Linked DNA regions of Homo sapiens: region 2 is linked to region 1. Evidence: promoter capture Hi-C in human tissues and cell types (Jung and others, 2019). All regions are on one chromosome and are shown on one strand. The core of a region is centred on a gene start or on the middle of the fragment in contact, and the rest is flanking DNA. Distances in the headings are between cores, read along the strand shown.

Region 1 (4,728 bases), core at 783-3,282:
TTTAATAGGTACATTTTAGAGTTTCGGCCAAGGGTCAGCAGAGCTCTAGGAACCTCGTAGATAAGCATTTGGTCAATTCAGACCTGCTCAGATTAACTCATACTGTGCACTATTTCACATAAAAGCAAAATGTCACCAAACTACTTTGCTTTACATTTGAGTTGAAACTAAAATGGCTCTTTTCTACAAGTCTAGAGTCAATGTTTTCAGAATAGATTCTCCAAGCCCAATTTAAACAAAATGGAAGGGATGTACTGCTGCAGGCAGCTCTTTCTCCCGCTGGCATGCCTCCTTCTCAGCCCTCACCTTCCACTTCATCTCCAGGATGGCCCTTTCCACCTCCTCCAGGGCTCGCTCCCTTTTTTCCACAGCCCTCTCCCGCCATTCCACTGCCCTTTCCCTCCTAAGCACCTCCTTTTCCCTTTGGCTGGCCCACAAAGCCATGGTGCCCACCTGCTCCAGGAGCCTACCCCAGTTACCCTCAATGCCTGTGGGGAGCTGGGGCCCGTGGGGCCTTGGATCCTGGCGCTGCCCAGCCTGACCATGGCCACTCTTCTCCAGCTCCTCTCTGTGCATGCTTTTCAGATGCTTCCACAGTGCAGTGGTGCCCACGTTGACCCCAGGGCCACGGCTCACCTGCCTGCCACACAGGCGGCAGGTGGCATACTGGTTGGGATGGTGCCCAGCACGAGCAGGAGCTAGGTGGAAATATTCCCATGCCTCAGAGAACCGGGTGCCCTTGTTGTGGGGCATTGGAGTGGGCATAGCACTCACAAAAGGGCCAACCAGTTCTCCTGTCTCACTAATCTCTTCCTCCTCCTTCATCTCTAAGTCCCCTTTTGCCTTCATCATTGTTCCCTCCTCTTCCTCGTCTTCCCGCCTCATCATGTCACCTCTTCTACAGCGTTCTTTATGATGTGCTTAGATGTGAGCCAAAAGCTTATTTGAACCACAAGATTAAATATATATTTGGGAAGGGCCTGTGGTAACTCTTGGGGATTCACAATAATGGCCAAAGTCTGGCCACACCTGGGTGGTGTGAGGTTTCTTCCTTTCTGCTTCACTGGAGAGTCAGGGGTGAGTCAGATACAAGCAAAACAGCCCAAGAGTGCATTCCTTCCATGCCCCAGATACTTACTTATCCTCCCTTGACTAGGCCAGAAAGACAAAACATATCAGTTCCTGTAGCAAAGGGGTTCTCTGGTCCAACAATTACAAAGCTCTTTGATGAACTCAGTGTTTTCTGCATCAACCACCACGACAGGTATTTTTGAATATTGAAAATTTTAGGTTTTCTTGTTTCTCCTCCTGGTTGTTTCCACTGTTTCTGTGCTTCTTATTTCCTATAATTGCATTTTGGAGGCAGGAGAAACAGCCTCAGGGTTCAGGCTTTTCAGGACCAACAGAGCTAGGGCCTCACTGGGTCTTGCTCAAAGTAGGTAAAAGCAAACACAGGCAGATGCTGGTGCAGGAGACAATCTTGCTTCCTAAGAACTGTTGCAACAAGCAATCCAGAGTAGACAAAGCCTATGAGGATCTGGATAATAAAGTTCCCAATGCAAGGTCAGTTTGTCCTTAGAGGTGTCTCTCAGAGGCCAGGAGTCTAAGAAATCCAAAAAGCAAGCTCAGCTGTTTCAGCAGGAGGAGCTGGGATGCACAGAGGAGAAGGTGGAGCACATCTTCACAAACACAGCGTTGCCTGGCTGTCCTTAGCAAGCAGCTCACCATACTCCACCTTCTCCACCAGGATCACCTGCAAAGCCAACAGCCAATAAGACCTTCCTGAGGCAACTTACTCCAGATGTTTTGCTCTTTACCTCATTTTAAAGATAAATAAGTAAATGGAAAATCATATTACATTTAAAAACAGCCCGACTTCTCTCTCCTTTCTTGGGTCATTTCTTAAACTAATGAGAGCTTTATTTAATCAAGCTCTGCAACCGTGAACAGTTAGGAAATTCCCCCCAGCCACAAGTGGGTACTTACAAGCAGGCAAGGCTCTGGACTTCTCTCTGATCTTTCCTGCGCAGAGTGAAAGCACTCCTGCACACCTTGGATGTCTATTAGCTGACTCCTACCCCCAGAAGGAGGGCACCTCCAGTTCTGGTTTCCTCCCACTTCTAGGGAAGCATTGTTTCCAGGTAGGTGTGTCTGTGCCTGTTGGGTTTTTCTGCAACACTTAGACACAGATGCAAACCTTTTCTCCACCCCCTCCACCACCAAGAAAAGGATGTTCCTGGCATATGTCATGCAGCAAAACAGTAAGTCAAGCACCTACAAGTCTTAGTTCTCTTTTTTGATGACTAGATTACCTAACCTCTCAAGTAAAGCAAGCGATTTGAAGGAGGAAGAGTGGGAAAGGCTGAAATATTAAATGTATACACACATATATATTATATATATACATACATTATATATAATATGCATAATATATATATGTGTGTGTATACATATTTAGATTGAGAAGGAAAACCTACCAAGAGGAGATAGGAAGACTCTAAAGAAGGTATCAATAGAAGAAGAAAAAACTTTGTGTTATAAAAGGAAAGATAGAAATGGCATTGCAGGCCAGGAGCCATGGATCTTGCCTGTAGTCCCAGCACTTTGGGAGGCCGAGGCAGGTGGATCACTTGAGGTCAGGAGATCGTGGCCAGCTTGGCCAACATTGTGAAACCCTGTCTCTACTAAAAATGCAAAAATTAGCCAGGTGTGGTGGTGCACGCCTGTAATCCCAGCTACTTGGGAGGCTGAAGCAAGAGAATTGCTTGAACCCGGGAGGTGGAGGTTGCAGTAAGCCAAGATCATGCCACTGCACTCCAGCCTGGGCGACAGAGGGAGACTCTGTCTCAAAAAAATAAATAAATAAAATGAATAAATAAAAATAAAAAAAGAAAGAAAAGAAAAAGAAATGGCATAGCAGAAAATATGTAGAGGTTGACAGTTAAATTAAAATAGAAAAAAAAGATGGGGGAAAAAGATTCAAAATAGGAATGAGACTGGGAGGAGTTTTAGAACATGAACCACATTTCTAAACCAAATCTTGGAACGCAAAGTCTAGAGAGAGTCTAGAATGTTTGAAATTTGGATCATTTCAGAAAATCTGAACCTAGAGAATTCATGAAAGTCAAATCTTTTCAAAATTTTTAGACGTTAACCAGAGTTCTTCAGTGAGCCAGTTGCCTTCGTAAAATAATAACACCCCCACTTACTCCTGATATTACCATATCGTCATCTTTGGTGGGTTAACTAAAGAGAAAGGAAATGAATCATAAGAATGGTTAATGTCACTGGATTAATGCAAAACTTTGTATCTTTTTCTTTTTTTAAAAAAACATTTTACCTCCTTTACCTTTTTGTCTCTTCCTGGACCAACTGGAGATAAAAATCAATCTTTGGCATCTATTGAATTAAACTGAACACTCTCCTTTACTTAATAAGAATGTATTTTAGAGGATCTGGTTTTGCTTTTAATTTTTTAGTGGAGAGACTAGCATCCCTGGCCCATATATGTATCCCCATTATCTGGAAAGGCAAGTGTTGAACGGATGGGAATACTGGGAGCTACGGTGTTTGCCACCCAGCATCTTGGATATGCTAGACAACCCCCTCTGAAATTCTCTTGTTTCATTGGGATTTCTGTAGCAATGTACTGAGAAATAGTAAACTTCTGTAGGATTTCACCAGGAAAATGTTAGTTAGCATTCTCGAATTTGGTTTCTCAGCTCTATAGGCCCAGACTTCTTGGGAGTAACTAGTCTGAGGATTGGCACACAAATCATCACATACATTTAATTGTTCTTTACATGTTAACTAGTATATTCATTAATTGTGGAAAATATCTGAGAACTAAGAACTAGGGCTGGTCATATGTAAAATATATACATCTCTTGATGAGAAAACAAGTAATTATAAAAGGAATTATAATTTTGAAGAGTCTCAGATAAAACAATGGGAATCCAATAATTCTCACTGGATATTTTCACCAGACTGTAAAAGAAAGTATCATCCCCCAAAGAACAAACATAGCATTGAAAATAAAACATAACTAGCCCTGCATCTAAGTTCTCTGCTTTCATAATATAGTTACTTCTTTCATTTTTTTATTTCAATACAATTTTTATTAAAAAATATGTTGGACTGAGATTAAGGAGACATGGTTTCTAATTGTGCCATTAACTATTTTCCACTTCCTCGAACCACTGGGTGCCTTGATTTTTCCATTGGTCAAATGGCAAAAATAAGGCATGCTCTACCTATCCTTAAGATTAAGCCAATGAATTGTTTTTAAAAATTAGGAAAATGCTTCACAAGTAAAAAGTAGGATATTTATATAAATCGTTTTCTGTGATTGTTACAAATAGTGTCGTACATTATTTGGAGCACAGAAACAGCTTGTAGATCCCCTTGAGCTTTTAATCTAACAGACTATTCTTCTCTGGCCTCTGTTTGCTATAGCTTCTTCCTTCTATTCTTTGGTTTCCATTTAGTATTATTTTATTCTGCCTACACAGAGTTAAGATTTCTCCTTTACAGAACCCAGAATCCAGACTTGGAACATTAGTATAGTCCTAGATCCTTAAGTTGACCTAGGAGTATAGCCAGAAGTTTATAACATCTCTATAGGAGATAGCCCATTTATAGTGCACGTTCTAACACAACCTATATTAAAAGTAGACATTGCCTTCTATTTATTCAGTTAAAAATGGAGAAACTCTTTTTTGCCAACTT
Region 2 (4,728 bases), core at 1,056-3,555, 120 kb after region 1:
TACAACAAAATATTTTTATTGAATGCATTTATCATGCAGCACATACATTAATTTATTACAAACTTATTTAATATATTGATTGCTATATTTCCATATCATAGATTTTCTTTGTAATCCTGTATATTGTATGCATTCATTTAACATGTAATTCTGAGAAGGGGGTCCATGATTTTAATATACTTCCAAAGGTATTTATGCCAACAAAATTAAGAATTTTTGAGTCAGACATATGGCAAGTGCTCTGTAAATCTTTGCTGATTTCCTAAAAATATATATTAATATAAACAGTTCTTGACTTTCCACATATGATTATATTTTCTTGCCTTTTTCCTAGCAGTCCGTATAAAACGGAGGAGTTAACATTCAGCATTTTTATGGATTGCTCTCCTTTTTGTGTTTTGAATATTTCAGGTTCTTATTTTCTACCACTGTCCCTTCTACAAGCAGTACCCCTTCCTGTGGCCAGGAAAGAAGATTCCAGCGCCCTGGGCAAACACCACAAGTGTGCGCAAACTAATCCTCTTCTTGGAGACCACTCTGAGTGAGCGGGCCTCACGGGGCTCCTTCCATGTCTCCCAAGCGATCCTCACCCCCAGAGTGAAGACCATTGCCCGGGGCTTGGTTGGGGGCCTCAAGAACACGCTGGTTCATAGGTAAGAATTTGCTTCCACCCCACAAGGAAAGCTTTTTAAAAAATATTTATCTTGATTCTATTCTGAGTAAATCGCAGTAAAGCCATGTAGTCTGAGGAGTTAGAAAAACAACAAAACAAGCAAAAAACTTTGTATTCGAGAAAACCATGCAGTTGAGGTGGATTGTATTAACAAAGGCTCTCTAAACACTTTGTTCATAAGTACACATCATACCATAAATACTGTACTCTCTAAATTTTGCTATAAGGCAAAGCACATTGAGCCAACACCATGTCTGTTCACTCCTGGTACCTGGCCACATGGGGTCCTGCCTGTGCCTCGCAGCTGACCCAGGCACTCATTTAAGAAGCATTCAATATAGGCTGCTGTCCTAGGTGCTAAGGATTCAGAGCTGGCCCTTCAAGAATTTGTTCTCCTTTCCATGGTGACCATGAGTCACTGAAGAAGCAGCTTAGGATGCCACCCACCATGCCCATGCTGTAGCTTCAAATACTTCCTCAGGGCAGAATTGAGCCTGGTTGTACAATTAGATAGCAGAAGCTTCAGTAATTTTGTATCAGATGGTGTTCCTTATCCCGGACACCAATGAATGATAGATGTTCTCAAGAAAAAGGATGGTTTATTTGTATGCGTGTTTGTGTGTGTGCGCGCACATATATGTGAGTGTGTGTATGTATGTGTCTATGTACCTGTACATGTGTATGTGTATATGTATATGTATAAAAGGAATGTTATAAATACATTTGGATAACAGGGAATCCCTTGCAATCCAAGCTAAGGAAGCTAATACGTTTGGGTAGCAAAAGATATTTACAAGAATCAGTTTGGTCCCTGAGTTTCAGGTTGACGAGCAGAGTTCAGATAATGAAAGATTCATCCAAAAACATGTTTCTATTTATTTGGTCCTGAGTTTAGGTAACATGAGTTCAGATAACAGGAGTTCACCTAGCAGGAGTTTAGACAGCAGGACTAGATTTTTCTTTCTTGGTGAGAGCTCCTGATTATGTCAACCATGGACAAAACCAGAAAGTGTTTTCTGTGTGGCTCTACTAAGTCTTGACTGAATTCATTATGCTGAACTTGGAAAAGTGAATTTTATAAACCAGCACTATATCTCTTTGAAAGATCCCGAATTAGAAGCTTTATTGTTTTAATAATATGTTTGTGTATCCACACTGTTTTCCTCATGCCTCTGGTATATTTGTAGATCAACATTATTTATATATTCATTCAACAAACATTGAGCACCTAGGAAGAGCTAGGTACAAAGATTCAAGGTGAATATTATACTGTCTGCTGTCAAGGAACTCACAGTCTAGCAGCAGAAACTGGCATGAAAATTTCTATAAAGCAATGTGAAATACCACTGTGAAGAAGTCTGTGCAGACAGCCATACTAATAATGGAGAGGGAGTATTTAAAAAACTAAGGATAAGTTATATCTGTATACCATATTCTGAATATCAAATGGCTTTTTGCAGATGATTTCATTTGATTCTTAAATCAAGTCAGCCTCTAGGATGGCACATTGTCTACAGCATATTATCATCCCCTCTTTAGATGGGATTCAGGGAGCTTAAGTGACCCCAATCCATACAGCTAGTAAAAGTCAAGAATACCTCTCAGACTCTGGCCTTCTGATCGTTAGACCACTGCCCTTTTCAGCGTTGGACACTGACTTGGATACTGCATATTTTTGTGCTTATTCTTTTCTGTTCCACAGGCCTGCAGTTGTCTTATTAGTACCTGAATCTGGTAATATCTCACAGGTTATAACTAGTAACCCACAATGTCACAAAGCTTTTCATATCTGTACATTCCTAAAACTTTAATCTGGCTGCAAGTGAAACATTGGCTCTTTCCTTTATGATGAGAGATAATGATGTTGGCATGCGCCCAAAGCCAAGGGATCCTACTATGCCAGAGCCCTTGCACTACTGCTAGCAGCAAGCCAATGTCCCCAAGCTTGGAAAGATACTTTCTTTGGCATCTCGCCCCCCTGCCGGCCATAAGAATATTGCAAGTATGCATGCATTCCTAGTCCTGCACATCAACTGAAGGAGGAAAATATAGCTCTGGTTGAGTTTGTTCCAAAAGGCCAGTGCAGAGTGTGGCTGTCATTTCCTCTGGGCTGTTGAACAAACATAGGACCTTCCCCTGTGTGCCAACACCCAGAGGGTCTGTCCTAACAACTGGTCGCTGGCACTGGTGGTCAGCTCAAACCAAGAAAAAAAAGACAGGGTATATTTTCTTACAAATGTAGAGGTGGTTTCTCGGCAGGGATTTAACCCCCTAACTCTTCGATAAACTTTGGAGCTAAGATCTTGTTCATTTTGGTTCAACACCGTAGAAGGAAGCCACAAGAAATATAGCCATTTGACTCAATTTCCATGGTGGTTTCTCCCAGACTTATAGAAACCTGAAATTCAGGTTCATGGCACTCTCACTGAAATCATATGAAAATGCTTTGCCTAAGCTTGAGGACAGAGCATCCATGAACTCTATAAGGGAACATGGACTGAAATCAGAAGGCCTGAGAGTGCAGCCTGACATGCTCCCTGTTCCAGGGTGCATTGTGTTGTGCCCCGTCCCATCCCCGCCATCCCCAAGCTCACATATTGAAGTCCCAACTCTCAGTTACCTCAGAATGTGGGTACATTTGCAGATACGGCCTTTAAAGAGGTAATTAAGTCAAAACGAGGATATTAGGGTGGGCCCTAATCCAGTCTAGCTGGTATCCTTAAAAGAAAAGGAAATTTAGACACACAAAGAGACACCACAGATATGTGTTCACAGAGGAAAGGCCATGTGAGAATGCAATAAGAAGGCGGCTGTCTGCAAGCCAAGGACAGAGGCCTCAGGAGACATGAAATCTGATGACACTTTGATCTTGGATGTCCAACTTCTAAAACAAGAGAAAATACATTTCTGTCATTTAAGCCAACCAGTATGTGGTGTTTTGCTATGGTAGCCCTAGCAAATCAATGCAGTCCCTGAGCAACAGGGTGGCCGTGGACAAGTTTTCTGAGGTCTCTGAGCTGTGGTTTTCTCACCAGTTAAACAGGATTAATAAACCTCATCAGATTGTAGCCTTAACATGAAAATGCCAGCCACAGTGGCTGGCAGAAAATAGACATGCCATCCCTATTTGTAAAGACACCCAGAAACACTATGGACCACCCTTGTTCCCAGCTGGGCCCCAAGGTCAAAGGGAAGTTTTTAACCTCCTGCTCTGCCATCCATGGGAACTGTTGCCTCACGGGCCTGTCAGCACTGTCAGGTTCAGCCTTTTGCACAGATCCCTTGTCCTGGTAAATACCAAGAGCTGAGAAAATAAAGTAGCTCCTCTTCACTGTGGGTTCTGCATTTCCCCTTCTTCGTACTTAATCCTAATTATTTGATCCTTGCCTTGGAGAAGGTTGACACATGCTACCCGAAGCTGACACAGAACTCTTTGTCACTGGAAACCACAGGTACATACCTTTCACTGCATTTCTCTGCTCAGGCTCCAGGGATCCTCCAAGGTGAGGAGGCTCTGGCTGCAGTGACTGGAGTTACAAGCCTTTAAGGCTCATTTCCCTGTAATGACCAGCAGAGGGCGCCTGCACCTCATACTTCAACACTGACTCAGGCTTTTAAAATGAAGTCTTGAATCTATCAGGTTCAGTACTACTGTGTCCTTGGTGTGGTTCCTTGTGTATCCTTGGTCTATCTTTAAGGAAGTCTGTATTTGCAGCTTCTCACTTCCAAACCACAACATGTTGTCACGTAAGCAGGAGGATGTGACCTCTTTAAGGTGTAGTTTCTTACTCCCAGCCACCAAATATTTCTACCTCACACTCTTCCAGTTATGATTCCTTACCTTTTTTTTTTTACCACACTTATCATATCACAGAAACTCTTCTAAACACTTTACATGTATTATTTTGTTTAATTCCCCAAAAATCTGTATGAAGCATTATTATTATCACTCTTCAGGAGTCCCCGTTCAAAATGGAAGTACCCCTGGGAGGGTGATCTTTTAAGTCATAATCAGCTATTAATATAAAAATATAGGCCAGGCGCAGTGGCTCACG

Evidence for each region. The method cuts DNA at HindIII sites, captures the fragments that hold promoters and counts their contacts. A contact is called where the count stands out against the background at its distance.
Region 2: a contact is called between a fragment that was not itself captured here and the fragment with the promoter of ZBED2 in region 1, in 3 of the 25 tissues and cell types used here (IMR-90 fibroblasts, bladder and mesenchymal stem cells).

Annotation. Positions count from the first base shown.
Region 1 is chr3:111,593,314-111,598,041 of GRCh38, forward strand. It overlaps ZBED2 (zinc finger BED-type containing 2), which reads right to left and starts at 2,033. Exons shown (of 2, transcript NM_024508.5): 1 at 1,987-2,033; 2 at 1-1,753. The coding sequence starts at 888. The coding sequence ends at 232. The region is part of intron 5 of CD96 (CD96 molecule); the gene reads left to right. The HindIII fragment of the contact is 9,781 bases long and covers 331-4,728 here.
Region 2 is chr3:111,713,476-111,718,203 of GRCh38, forward strand. It overlaps PLCXD2 (phosphatidylinositol specific phospholipase C X domain containing 2), which reads left to right. Exons shown (of 4, transcript NM_001413064.1): 3 at 412-653. Among named protein-coding and RNA genes, the nearest start is that of PLCXD2-AS1, 38 kb to the left of the region's middle. The HindIII fragment of the contact is 4,188 bases long and covers 212-4,399 here.